3 separate regions of the Homo sapiens genome follow, and regions 2 and 3 are each linked to region 1. The links are contacts of gene promoters, found by promoter capture Hi-C in blood cells and fetal thymus (Javierre and others, 2016). All regions are on one chromosome and are shown on one strand. Each heading gives the region's core, a stretch centred on a gene start or on the middle of the fragment in contact. The rest is flanking DNA. Distances are from core to core; before and after follow the strand shown.

Region 1 (4,702 bases), core at 1,051-3,550:
ATCTCCAACTTTTCAAAATGACTCAAAAGTTGAGCTAGCCTTATTTTAAAAACTAAAAGTTCAAAATCAGTGGTGACATGAGGACTTATTTATTTAAAGTGCTTAAGCCTTGGTTTTAGAGTTTCTAAGAGACCTAGTGGAATTTGCTATTATGAAAAGCATGAAAAGATTAAGAAACCTGGCTAAAGGTCAGGTGCCCAGCTTCGAGGAAAAGTTGGGCTTTTAGGGACCGGGAAGCATTAAAGGCACAGAAACTTTACATTTTGGGGGTCATTTTGTTGAGTAGGTGAAGTGAGGGATTTGGGCTTGATATTTGGCTGCCCCATCTCTACGTGGGAACTCAAAGTTAAAAACCCACTGTAGGTAAATTAGAAGGGCAGCTCTTGAATCTGGGCCAGTCTATATCCCTTCTGTGAAGTGCTAACAGCCAGGCTATCTGTAGCCTGGGTGGGAGCCCAGATAATGTGAGCTGGTAAAGGGTATTGGAAAAGTGCCAAGAAATGCCAAGCTTTTGGTTCGTAACCACTATAAAAAGTTTATGAACATGTCAGAGGAATGGATGAGTGATTTGTGAGGTCTTAACTAGATACCCCGGTTTCTTCCTTGTTTTGGCTTCTTTTCAGAATGCCGGGAGAGTACATGCAGGGATTCCATCTAATCACCCTCAGCACTCTTTCTCTGGTCCTGCTGGATAGATTTAGATTTCCTTTCTTTTTTTAGGGCCTCAGTCTGCTATCTCCTTTGGTGGCTACCACCACTCACTCCCTTGATATCTTCTACTCCCTTGCCTTCACCTTGCTTAAGACTGAGAAGGGAGTTAGATTTTGTCACTAGCTCTTCTTTTTCCTCACTGTGTACCCCACCAAACAAGATTAGTTCAAGTTAAAAAGAACCTACTGGAGGTAAACTGGGAGAGCAAGTGTTGGATCTGGGCTGGTCCCTTTCCCATAAAATTAGGTCCCTGGTTGTATGTTCCCATAGCACCCCATACTTCCTCTCTCAGAATAATCATTTCCCTTGTAATGCTCAGCATCCGCATCCTGCTTGACTGCAAACTTGCTGAAGGTAGGGACTGTTTGTCTTGGACTTCGCTGCCAGTCCTTAGAACAGTGTCTGGGACACAGTGTGTTCTCAAATATTTGTTGCTGGAATAAATGAATGAACTAAATCAGTCTTTTAGGGATTTACTGTTAACCACCATGGGAAAATTAAATAAATGCGGGGAAGGAAAACGTTCTAAAATTAGAAGACTACTTTCTACTCTCAGCTTCTGATTCCCTCTGAGCTAAGAACCAGACAGCCTTAGGCTGGTAACTCCTATAAGCTGGTCCTCCTCCCATGCTGACCCCATCTTTACTGTACAATTCACTTTTCATGGACTGAAGGCACCACCAAGATAGATCCAGGAGTGACAACTCCAGTGTAGGTGTCCACTGTTCCCTTAATCTCTGTCCTGCTCCAAGTATAAATAAATTGGGGCCATTTCCTTAGATATTGGGGTTTTCTCAAGAAATCCTTTCCCTTCGTGGCATGGGTCAAATCGCTGGTAGTTAAAAAGGTGTTAACTCTTACGTGAAATAACACTTTTTCTTTGTAATGACCTGACTGGAAAGCCTCTGTGTCATCACTTCTCATTTCTTATTTGAAATCAGCAAACTGGATTCAGTAGACATGAACTTAAGCCCCATGAAAGTGGGGGTTTTGTCTGTTTTGCTCACTGCAGTACCTCCAGGGCCTAGCAGCATGACTGGCACATATTTGTTCAAAGTGAATACTCACACCTTCACACCCTCCCTAGAGAGCTGTTGTAGGCCTCTCAAATGTAGGATTTAGGGAAGTCAAGTTAAAAAAAATTAAAACGTTTCAGCACCACCCACAGGTGAGGCTATTCTGCAAAATATGTTGTCTTGAGGTATGTTTCGTCTGGACAAAACGTATTTCCACAGACACAAATCAAAGGTGTTTATTAACTGCTGTGTGCCCTGTTTCTGGATTCCCAGTCAAGTGGGACACCAGACGTCATAACACAGGGAGGACGTTCGGCGAAGCAAAATGAGGGCAGCAGCGGGAAACCAGTTTCACCAGGTTCCGCCTTTTCTCGTTTACTTCCGCCCTTCCCAGTTCCTAAGCCGACAGATGGGGCCGCGTTCAGTCTGGCCGGAAAGGGCGGGCCGCACGGTGGCCCAAACTTCCGGCGCGCAGTAAGGCTGCCTAGCTAGTGATTCTAACGCGAGGCGCGCGAGCGGCTGGATGACGTCACGGAATGGGGGGAAAGAGGGCGGCACTCGAGTGGGTGCGCATGCGCAAGAAGGTGCCTGCGGGACTGGAGCAGAGCGGGCTGCGAGGGTCTTCCCAGCGCAGGCGGGTTTTCCAGTGTTACTTGCGGCTGGGCGTGGGGGACTAGCTGCCTTTCTGGCAGCAGGCAGGAAGCCGCAAAAAGTTTCTGAGCCCCCGAACCTGTAGCGGACGTGGAAAAAGAACGTATGTGAGACAGACTTATGCCTCATTTAGCAAATCACTATAACATGCTCTGGTGTGGGGTGTGTGGATCGGAGAAATCTCATCTTCCGAGGGTCCTTGATGTCGGACAGAAAGGGAAGGCGGGGCCAGCAGAAGTTAAAATACTACCCTTCTGCAGTTCTAGTGGATTTCATTCATTCATTTTTATGTGTCAGGGTGAGATGGTTGTTAGTCCACATTCTGGTGTATATTAATCAAATTACTATTCTTATAACTATTCTCTGGCGGGAAGAGTAGGGGAGTTGTCAGTGGAAAGGATACATTTGGAACTTGGAGCTCTGTCCCAGAAGGGCTTTTGGGCGAAATGCTGTGAATTTTGCCAAACACTGCCCCGCCTCCGCCTCTGCCCCAAATTCCCTACGGTTTGAACCAGAGAACGTAATTTGCAACAGGTGAAATTTAGAATAAAAGCCAGAGGGAATATAAATCTAGCTATAAGGCTAGAAAAACACACGAATTTATGATTGAGGGAGACCAAGTCAACCAGAAAAATCAAGCAGCATCGGTGAAACTATCTTGTCTGGGCTGGGTCGCCATTTCAAAGCAGGGAGGGACAGAATAACCTTTGGAAGATACCGCGATTTAACAGGAAGGCTGTTAATAATTCCCTGCTCCTGCTTTGTTTCTAGGCCCCTCCTCAAGTGTCTGGCTGAAAGATGCCACCCAGGGAAGGGAACTCGGGCTAGCTAAGGAGGCCATTCTTGATGTTGCTTCTAGATCTCATGTCATCACCGAGCCCTCAGCTGCTGGTGGCAGCTGCTCAGCAGACCCTTGGCATGGGAAAGAGACGGAGTCCACCCCAAGCCATCTGCCTTCACTTAGCTGGAGAGGTGCTGGCTGTGGCCCGGGGACTGAAGCCAGCTGTGCTCTATGATTGCAACTGTGCAGGGGCATCAGAGCTCCAGAGCTATCTGGAGGAGCTGAAGGGGCTTGGCTTCCTGACTTTTGGACTTCACATCCTTGAGATTGGAGAAAACAGCCTGATTGTCAGTCCTGAGCATGTATGTCAGCACTTGGAGCAGGTGCTGCTTGGTACCATAGCCTTTGTGGATGTTTCCAGCTGCCAGCGTCACCCTTCTGTCTGCTCCCTGGACCAGCTTCAGGACTTGAAGGCCCTCGTGGCTGAGATCATCACACATTTGCAGGGGCTGCAGAGGGACTTATCTCTAGCAGTCTCCTACAGCAGGCTCCATTCCTCAGACTGGAATCTGTGTACTGTATTTGGGATCCTCCTGGGCTATCCTGTTCCCTATACCTTTCACCTGAACCAGGGAGATGACAACTGCTTAGCTCTGACTCCACTACGAGTATTCACTGCCCGGATCTCATGGTTGCTAGGTCAACCCCCAATCCTGCTCTATTCTTTTAGTGTCCCAGAGAGTTTGTTCCCAGGCCTGAGGGACATTCTAAACACCTGGGAGAAGGACCTCAGAACCCGATTTAGGACTCAGAATGACTTTGCTGATCTCAGCATCTCCTCTGAGATAGTCACACTGCCGGCTGTGGCCCTCTGACTTTAACTCTCCTCCCATATAGAAGGTACTCAGTAAATGATCATCTCTAGGTTGGGGATGGCAAATAATCATCTCAACTGCCAATTCCAAGTGTCTTGAATACACTAAGGCACAATGCTGTAGATCAGTTGGCCACAAATGCAAAGGGCATGTAAATAGGTAATGGTGGTGCTAGTAGCAAATTGGTAGATAGTACATACTTGCCATTTCTATACTAGGAAGTCCTCTTAGTGGAGATGTTTTCATTTTCACTGGATAAAAGATAGAAGGAAGGAGATGATAGAGGAAAAGCAGGGTGATGGAAGACAAGCCAAACACTCTTGCATGGTAACCTTGTAAATATACCTGCTCTATGTGGGTGCTGCATGCTAGGAAAGTAGGGCTGGGGGCTTTTCTGCATGTTTATATGCCTCCAACTGAATTTGAGGAGAGTAGACCACCAGTATGCTTAAATATGTGATACTTGTTAATGTAATACACCATTCAGGAATAAACTGAGAGTTCTGAGGAACAATCTGGTCAGGTGAAGTTTATTTACAGTAGGTTAAGAAATTAATAAAAAGTCAGAAATCCTAAGTCAGTTGGAAAACCCAAGCTGTAATGTACCCAAACCTTCTGAGTTTTTCGCTGAGTTGCTTGCTTCTGATTTTCACCCAAGGCAGTTGTCA
Region 2 (4,702 bases), core at 1,626-4,125, 230 kb after region 1:
CAAGGTGATGGTATTAGGGTAAAGGGCCTTTGGGGAAGTAGCAGGTCATGAGGGTGGGGCCTCAGAAGGACACTCATAAGAGAGACCCTCACCGGTTCCACCAAGTGAGGATACACTGAGAAGTTTGCAGTCCACAGCTGGAAGAGAGTCCTCACCAGAACCTGACCAGTCTTGAACTTGCCTCCAGAACAGTGGGAAATACATTTCTATTGCTTACAGGCTGCCCAGTCCTATGGTAATTTGTTATTGTGGCTTGAATGGACTAAGACAGAGAGCTACGGGAGCACAGAGGAGGAGCACCAGGACAGACAGGACGAGAGGCCGGGCCTTGCTGCTGAGACCTAAACCACAGGGTAGAGAGCTGGGTGGGGTAGAAGCAGCGGGGCTCTAGGCCTGTGTTTCCACTATGGTAGCCATTAGCCACATGCGACTGTCGAGCACTTGAAAACTTGGCAAGTCCACACTGAGATGTGCTGTAAGTGTGGAATACACACCAGATTTGGAAGACTTGGTATGGAAAAAAATGTAAACTATCTCATTAATCATTTTTATATTGATTCCATGTTGAAGTGATAACATTCTGGATAGATTGAATTATAAAATATGGTTATTCATGATACCATCACTCCTTTCTTTCACTTTTTTTCACTGTGGCTACTAGAAAACTCACGATTGCCTATGTGGCTCCCATTCTATTTTTATTGGCTGGCACTGCTCTAAGCAACAAGAACGGTCTGCACAGAGCTCAGAGGCAGGTGGGAGTTCGATGGATTTGGGGAATTGGAAGGGATTTTTAATTGCTGAGCTTGGGGTTTAGGGAGGTCATGGGGCAGCCTTATGAAGCGTCCCAGTGAGCCCTTCACAGGAGCCTGACTGTATCCTGAAGGCAGCAGGAAGGATTTCAGGCAGGGATGTGATCAGATCAGACTGATGTGCTTCAGAAACCATATTCTTACTTTATTCATGGAAAAAGGGACGAGGAACGAGAGCAACACTGAAAACAGGGAAGATGAGTCAGAGGCTGTAGCAGGCAGGGGCCTGGTGAGAGATGACCGTGGCCAGGGCTTGGTGTTCTCAGTGTGGATCGAGAAAAGTGAACCATCAAAATGAGTACTTTCATTACAGACACCTGGGATTTATTTCAGCAGGGAACTCTAGGAGAGTTAAAGTTTCCAGTGTCTGCATCTTATACTCATGGAATCCTCAAGCCACAGATGAATAGGGCAGGAAGGGAGTTTTCAAAGTGATTTGGACATTCCTCTTTAGGGGCTCTGATAGAGCAGGGCCCTTTAATCCCCAACCTGAAGAACTACCTAACAGGCAGGTGCTTTTCTTCCTGGGATGAAGAGAAGAGATTTTCTTCCCGACAGAAGCTTGTCAAAGCAGCGGTAGCTTGAGGGTACCCCAGGATGTGGGCCACAACACCCATGGAGACTGTTTTGCATGTCATTTCTAACAATTGTCTCTGCAGGCTGCCATCCCAGAGAACATCTGAGCCAGTGATTTTAGGTTTTCTTTCTGCGGAAGCCAGCACTTTGGCAGATGCTTGTGGAATGATAGGGTGCCTGTCTGGGCTGGCTTCCTGGTGCTGTCCACTTTTCCAGCCCACAGTATAACAGCCTCTGGCATTTGATGCACCTGACTTAGAAAATCAGCCGTTACTTGCCAGCTGTTGTTAAAATGGTCTCCCAATTGCTTTTCCCATTGCTGATCTTGTCCACTTCCCCCAACATGTAATTCTTTATTTGTGATGCTAAATCTGATTACCTTCCTCCTCTGCCTCAAAATCTTCCAAGATGCACCGTGTACCATAGATCAAAGCCCAGCACTCCTCCACAGGGTATTCAAGGCTCTCTAAAATCTGGTCTTCTTCCTCTGTGACCTCATCTCCCATCATTCTTTCCAAGTCTCTCACCCTCTAATGATGCCCAGCCATCTGCTAGCCTCAGAACACACCACACCTTGACTCATGCTGTTTTCTGCCTGCTATCAGCTTTCTGTTTTCTCTCCCTAGTTCCAAGTCCCAGGTAAACCTACTACAGGTTGCACATCCCTAATCTGAAAATTCAAAATCCAAAATATTTCAAAATCTGAAATGTTTTGAGCACCGATATGGTGCCACATGTGGAAAATTCCACGCCTGACCTCGTGTGATGGGTCACAGTCAAAACACAACCAAAACTTTGTTTCATGAACAAAATTATTTAAGAATACTGTATAAAATTACCTTCAGGCTATGTGTATAAGATATATGTGAAATATAAATGAATTTCATGTTTAGACTTGAGTCCTATCCCCAAGATATCTCATTATGTATATGCAAATATTCCCAAATCTGAATAAATACAAAATCCAAAACACTTCTGGTCCCAAGCATTTTGGATAAGGGATAGTCAACTTGTGCCTTCTCCTTGAAGGCTTCCGTACCATCTCTCTTTGTAAGGAATCCCAACCTCCACTGCCTTCCACATGTTACTCTGTTATAGGACTTGGTCTGGCCAGTCTTGTGTTATTTCTTGCTTATAGGTTTTCCTTCCCCATTATGCTGTGAGTTCCTGACAGCCAGGAACTCTGTCTGCTTTGCGTTTATAACCTAGAGATACACAATAAATACTGGCTGAGTGACAGAATAACTTCATGGAGCCCTTGGGGTTGACAGTGTCCTACTTTAGTCTTTCATAGGGACCTGCAATATTTATGGCAACCTGGGGCAGGAGGCAGCACTGGGACAGGGATGAGGTGAGTGAGGGGACCAGGGTGCAAAATATAAGAAGGCACCCCCTCTCTGGGTGCTGATCTGGGCTTGCCCGACCCTGAGGGTGGGCACCTCCTAGGTGTTCCTCCTGTTTTCCCCTCATCCCAGCCCTGGCAGGAGGGAGGGATGAGAGAAGTCTTGGGATCTGAAATGAGTCTTGCCACAGGGCATCTATAGGGACAGGCTAGGCTGTCAGTTCCTCCTCTTATTCTGATGCATGGAGCTCTCTGAACAAGTGAGCTCAACCCATGTCTAAGGGGCCCAGAAGTTCCAGCATGAATCCAGAGCCTACTGGCATGAGGAGAGTGGCCACAGAGATGTGGCCCCACAGATGGGATGGCCTGGGGAGTGGCTGACATTTGGAACACTCTGGAGACAGGCAGAAGGGTAGCCCTCACAGGCAGTCTCTCTAAGGGAGCAAGGTACCAGCCTGTGGGCCGGAACATGAAGCCAGAGAACACGAAGCCAGAGGACATCCCCAGAGGATAGTTACATTCTGGGGTTCAGTGTAGACATATGTATCTTAGGTTACTCATAGAATATAAGACATATGAATATAATATAAGACATGGAATATAAGAGAATATGTATCTTAGGTTACTCATAGAATATAAGAGACAAATAAAAAGTTATAGCAGGAGGAAATGCTAAATATTGTCTACCTTGGTGGCTCTCAACCCTGGTTGCACAGTGGCTGTCAGCCTTGGTTCCCCACAATCACTGGGGAAATTAGAAAAATATCTATGCCTGAACCCTACCAAATTTAATAATCATCTTTGGAGATAATGCCCAGATAGTCATCTTTTTTTTTTTTTTTCTAAAAGCCCCTAGTTGGTCCTAATCTATAGCCAGAGTTGAAAGCCCCTGATCTAGACCAACTTCATCATCTTATAGGGCAATTATCTGTGAAATTATTGCTTGCACGTTTATTTCTCATATTAGATTGAAAACTTTATATGAACAGGAAAGGTATCTGTTAATCACTATATTCATCCCCAGGGCATGGCACAAGGCTGGCACAAAGTTGAATGAATAACTGAGTCAATGGGTGAGTAAACCAAGGCCCAGAGAGGGGAAGGAACTTAGGCAATGTCATGCAGCAAATACACATGTGACAGAACCAGCATTAGAATCTTTGTCTTTTGACTCCTTGCTTGGTGTTCTTTCAGTTATCCCATGACTTCCATGGTTGGATGGTCACACCTTGGATCGCTTTACTCCAGAACTGGTAGATGTGCTTTTGTCTTCCTACAGGCCACATTGCCTGCTGTTGTAATTATTTGGGAGTCACAGGTTTGGAACTAGATCTTATTTTTTTGAGCATCACCAGCTGACCCACCACAAACGACTGACTTTAATAACTAAGGTGGGGAAGAGGGGGCTGGAAGGGAAGATGGGGAAATAAGCCCCACTCCGACTCAGGCTTTTGAAGTACCATACCTTCATTTTAGGACTTCACTTGCCAGAGGCCACTTTGCTGTTCTTCAGCCTTCCCCTACTGTGCCCTATGTAAACTTGAACTTTCCATCTTCTCTAGCCAATTGCTCAATTTTAATTACCTGTCTGGTTGAAAAGTCCTGAAAACCAATTCACAGCAAGGTGTTAATGATTGATAAGCTTTGATGGAATACATCTTCCTGGGATCTTTGCATATCAACCAGGGACAGTGTCCTGACTCAAAATAAGGGACGTCTAATTGCAACATTTTGAGTAGAAGGGAACAGAACTGTGAGGGGCAAGTCAGGGTGTAAACAGGGTGGCCCTTCTGGAGAGACTATCCTCAAATCCATCAGAGGAAGGCAGCCAGGAGTTTATCTTTGAGTAAGGCATCTGAAAGGCACTATTGGGGGTCAAAGTCTCAAGTCTACCTGGGTTAGAGGTGTACTTTGAACACAGAATTCTCACCTTCTACCAGTGGTATGAGACCAGCAGCTTCCCTGGGATTCT
Region 3 (4,702 bases), core at 378-2,877, 160 kb after region 1:
CCCAGTGCTGCCTGTGGGAGAGAGTCAGCTCTGGATTAGTCACCCTGGCGGAGGGCATCCGAGAGGCAGGGGCTCTAAAAATAACTCACGTGTGGCTTTGGAATGGAAGTTGGTCCCGCCCACACCCCCATCCCACCAGCAGAGGTGCCTTCTTAGTGAGGTTCAGTTCTGGAAGCTTCTATAATTAGTTTGCATTCCCTGAGCACTGGCTTTCTGACTGTGCACAGAGCCATCCAGGTGTGTGAGTGGTGGGGAAGGAAAAGGCAGCCTGAGAAGAATGAAAATGGAGGCTCCGTGACTCACGATGTGCTAGAGCTTCTGGCTGGGGGCTCCGGGAGAGGAACTCAAGCGAATATTGAAAACCAACCTACCTTCCTTCCTTCCTTCTTTTCCTTCTTTTTTCCTTCCTTCCTTCCTTCCCTTTTTTTCCTTCCTTCCTTCCTTCCTTCCTTCCTTCCTTCCTTCCTTCCTTCCTTCCTTCCTCTCTCTCTTTCTTTCTCTTTACATAATTTTAGAGCATCTATGATGAAACAAGCATTGTACAGGCATTGGGGATATTGAAATTAGTATGACATAATCTTTGCGCTCAAGAAGCTCGCACTGGGGAGAATGATGTGTAAATGGTAAACTATAATGTGACGCATGTTATAATGTGTCATGGCAGGCTTCACAGAGGTGCCTTCTGACCTAAGTCTCAGATTCGGGCAGTCAGTCCACCAGATTCAGTAGGTTGGAAACACAGGCATGGAGGGGCATTCCATGGAAGGGCGTTCTGTGCCTGATCAAAGCCTGGAGGTGGAGAATGTGAGGCTTGGAGGAGGGAGCTGGTGGTTGGGTTGGTGGAGCTGCAAAGGGCACAGGGAGAGAGGACTCTCCAAGAGCTCAGTGGCCAAGGGCCTGGGAGGTAGACTCTGAGCCTCCTTCGGGGGGATGACCAGCTGGCAGCAGTGATGGGATCTGGAGCTGAGTGGGAGGTGTGGACTGTGGAAGAGATTTTGGAGCTGCAGCTGTACAGATGGTAGCTGAAGCCAGCCCATAGAGAGCGAAGGAGGAGGGCATCAGGGCATTGCTCCTCATGGAAGCCAGGATCTGGAAGAGGGGGAGGAGAATTGGGAATGTTGGGTCATAGAAGTCAAGGGAGGAGAGTTTTGTGGCTCCATCTGCACCTGGACAGAGAAAGATTGTGCTGGTCGCCAAGCCTCTGTCCAGCGGAACCCCCTTAGCCTGTGGATTCTCTGTTCTGTTGCCTTTGCCCAAGGTCTCTGTTTGTTCTGACTCAGTAGCAGTTGCTCTGAGGGGATAGCTGCTTTGGGGAGGCAAAACTCCCTCCTATATTTTAGTGTAAGCTCCTCTCCCTTCTCAGGCGAACTCTCCAGGGCCTGCAGCTGGATCTGCCCCTGGAGGAGGAGACGTTGTCCCTTCCGAGAGACCTGGAGAGTCTTGACAGAAGCTTCAATGGTCTCCTTACTATGTATCAGAGGAAGAGGGAGCAGTTTGAAAAAATAAGCAGTGCTGATCCTTCAGGTGAGGAGAGGGGCACCCGGATAACCCCGGGCATGGGCACTGCCGTGGTGGGCATGCCACCCCCTCTCCCTCCTGCTCCTCCTCCATCTCCATTCCTCATGCTTCTCGCCACAGGAGCCTTCCGGATGCTGAGCACAGCCTACGAGCAGTCAGCCCAGGCTGCTCAGCAGGTCTCCGACAGCTCGCGCCTTTTGGACCAGCTCAGGGACAGCCGGAGAGAGGCAGAGAGGCTGGTGCGGCAGGCGGGAGGAGGAGGAGGCACCGGCAGCCCCAAGCTTGTGGCCCTGAGGCTGGAGATGTCTTCGTTGCCTGACCTGACACCCACCTTCAACAAGGTGACTTGGGGCATGGAGTCCCACTTCCTGGAGCCCACACCCCAGCTTGTCACACACCAACTGCTGCCACCTGCTTCCTATTAGGGCAGATCTGCCCCTGTGAGAACCCCACTCCCCCAGCCATCCCGACCCTTGTACTGCTCACTGTGAGCTCAGTGGTTGCCAAGGAAACCAGTTTCTGGTCCTTAGCTCTCATGGAGATGTCTGGCTGTTTCTGGTGCTTGGTTGTCATGGAGATGTCTGGCTGTTGGTTTCCCAGGTGTGGGGTGGGATTGGTTATTGAGGGGCTTTGGGTAGCCTCTTTAACACCGCCATCTGTCCACAGCTCTGTGGCAACTCCAGGCAGATGGCTTGCACCCCAATATCATGCCCTGGTGAGCTATGTCCCCAAGACAATGGCACAGCCTGTGGCTCCCGCTGCAGGGGTGTCCTTCCCAGGGCCGGTGGGGCCTTCTTGATGGCGGGGCAGGTGGCTGAGCAGCTGCGGGGCTTCAATGCCCAGCTCCAGCGGACCAGGCAGATGGTAAGTGCAGCCGAGGCGGGGTGGGCACAGGTAGGAGGAGGCAGACAGGATAGATCCCCCGGGCAAGTCAGAGTTCCCATTTTACACTAAAGTCCAGAGATTTTAGGTGACCTGCTTAAGGTGCCACAGCAAGTGCAAGATAGTTTTTTTTCTCTTTTACTGAACATCCACATGTAAGCTGGGTTGGTTACAAATGCTTCCTAGGTAGGTCTTGGCATAGAGGATGATCCGCAGAATCGTGGGGCTGCTGAGAGGTTCCCTTGGGGCCTTACCCCTTCTGACCTAGAGTGTATGTCAACAGATTAGGGCAGCCGAGGAATCTGCCTCACAGATTCAATCCAGTGCCCAGCGCTTGGAGACCCAGGTGAGCGCCAGCCGCTCCCAGATGGAGGAAGATGTCAGACGCACACGGCTCCTAATCCAGCAGGTCCGGGACTTCCTAACAGGTGAGCCCAGTCTCCACCCCACCTTGGCTGCTGTTCCAGTCCTGCCTGTCCCGCATTCCCATGTTCAGTGCATCAGCCAGCCCTCCCTCCCTAGTCCCAGGCCTGCAACATCCAGGCCTCCACTTCTCCTTGGCACCATGGCCATGACCTTCTCGTTCTCCCGTCTGCCCTCCCCACCCACTCCAATCCCTTGTGACCCATTCTCATTCTCAACACAACAGCTGAAATATCTCTTTTAAAATGCATAAGTCAGATCACATCTCACTCCTGCTTAAAATCCTTCAGTGGCTTCACCTTGTTCTTGGAATGAGCTCTCAACTCCCATCGTGGCTACAGAGCCTGGCCTCTGTCCATCTCTTGGGAGTGACCTTGGGCTCTTCTCTGCTTTGTTCACTGGCTGTCCTTGAACATGTCAGGCTCTTGCCTGCTTCAGGGATGTTTATTTGCTCTTTGTCTGCCTGAAGTCCTCTTTCCAGGGCTGCTGCTTCTTGTCCTCTGGGTCATCTCCCCAGAGAGGTGTTTCCTGACCATCCGATCTGTTTGTCCCCCATCATCTTACTTTCCTTGCACTACTCACCCTCATTCAGTTGTCAACAAGTGGATTGTCACTCCACTAGAATGGGGACTCCAGGAGGGCAAGGATGGTTGTCTGTCTTGTTGACTACTGTGTCACCAGCACCTAACATAAGGCCAGACACAGAAAGACATCTGACATTGGTGGCATGAATAAATGAACCAGACACCCTTCCTCACTGCTCTGGGGAGTGAGGAAGGGCTGTACAATGGAAAGATCCCTAAACAGGACCCGGGAGACTCGTGTGACATTGGGCAGGCTGCTTTTCTCTTTGCCTCATCTTTTGCTTCTATAAATGGGGACGGTAGTATTTCACAAGTTTATTCTGAGGATCAAATAACTGATGTAAAATGTGTTTTGAAAAAGGAAAAGTGCCTCAGGAACAAGAGTTGATATTGTTAGATTTCTGGTTCCTGCCAGGTTATTTGCTTGGCTGGGAGCCCAGTTAATACGAGCCCAGGGCTTGGTGTAATGACAGTGGCTCCTCTTGCTACTATTACAGTGTTTTTGCCCCAGATAGGCCGAAGTCCCCTCCTGAGTGCAGGTGGCAGGTCAGAGAGGGGCAGGAAAGTTCTTCTGAGGTCTCATGACTTGCATAAGGCCTTGAGGCACTCACCTGGGGAAAATATTACCTGGGGATGTAGGGAGATTGTGCCCCACAAACGTGGATGATGGGGGAGGTCAAGGTGTGGGGCTTAGGCTCATGGATAAGGGATTCTTGCCCCTGAGTCAAGTCCAGTGAGGCTGAATGGCCACTCATCCTGCATTAATCTCAGCCAGGGCTCTGGCCTCAGTGGGTGGGAGGTGAGTTGGAATTCTCTCCTGCCGGGTGCAGCTGAGGCTCATGTGAACAGACAGGGAGCTGCCAGGCCCCTTTTGTCCTCTCTCTTATACTTGTATCTCAGGTCAAGTCTTATGATGAGTCCAGGGTCAGAGAGAAAAAGCAGGGCCTGAGAGAGGCCTGGCCCCAGGGGGAAACCCAGGAAAATTTTCTGTAGCGGTGGGCTTGGACTCTGGTCTCCAGAGTCCTGGTGCAGAAGCCACTGAGCGCTGGCTGCTGTCCGATATAGGGTCACAGTGTGGGAGGGAGAGTGGAAAGTCTGTGGAGGGAGGAGGAAACATCGCCTTTCCCAGTTCTTCAAATGGAATTGACAAAATGAATAGTTAAGGCTTATTAAGTTCTAACTGAGTCCAGGCACTGTTCCAAGTGCTTTGCATGTATTACATCATTTATTCCTGACTACATGAACTAAGTACTCTTATTACTTCCACTTTGCACACAAGTAATCTAGGCACAGAG

The links. The method cuts DNA at HindIII sites, captures the fragments that hold promoters and counts their contacts. A CHiCAGO score of 5 or more calls a contact.
Region 2: a fragment that was not itself captured here is called in contact with the fragment with the promoter of C1orf74 in region 1 in 1 of 17 cell types (monocytes); the score reaches 5.0 in monocytes.
Region 3: a contact is called between a fragment that was not itself captured here and the fragment with the promoter of C1orf74 in region 1, in 1 of 17 cell types (neutrophils). The highest score is 9.0, in neutrophils.

Annotation. Positions count from the first base shown.
Region 1 is chr1:209,782,157-209,786,858 of GRCh38, reverse strand. It overlaps C1orf74 (chromosome 1 open reading frame 74), which reads left to right and starts at 2,300. Exons shown (of 2, transcript NM_152485.4): 1 at 2,300-2,481; 2 at 3,150-4,702. The coding sequence starts at 3,225. The coding sequence ends at 4,034. IRF6 (interferon regulatory factor 6) reads left to right here. Exons shown (of 9, transcript NM_006147.4): 9 at 1-1,242. It overlaps TRAF3IP3 (TRAF3 interacting protein 3), which reads right to left. Exons shown (of 17, transcript NM_025228.4): 17 at 4,549-4,702. RefSeq lists enhancers at 1,362-1,977, 2,162-2,421, 1,978-2,595. The HindIII fragment of the contact is 4,418 bases long and covers 511-4,702 here.
Region 2 is chr1:209,549,807-209,554,508 of GRCh38, reverse strand. No RefSeq gene overlaps it. Among named protein-coding and RNA genes, the nearest start is that of CAMK1G, 32 kb to the left of the region's middle. The HindIII fragment of the contact is 2,999 bases long and covers 1,376-4,374 here.
Region 3 is chr1:209,620,662-209,625,363 of GRCh38, reverse strand. It overlaps LAMB3 (laminin subunit beta 3), which reads left to right. Exons shown (of 23, transcript NM_000228.3): 15 at 1,364-1,524; 16 at 1,639-1,859; 17 at 2,185-2,382; 18 at 2,684-2,828. MIR4260 (microRNA 4260) reads left to right here and starts at 1,854; the gene lies at 1,854-1,920. The HindIII fragment of the contact is 349 bases long and covers 1,453-1,801 here.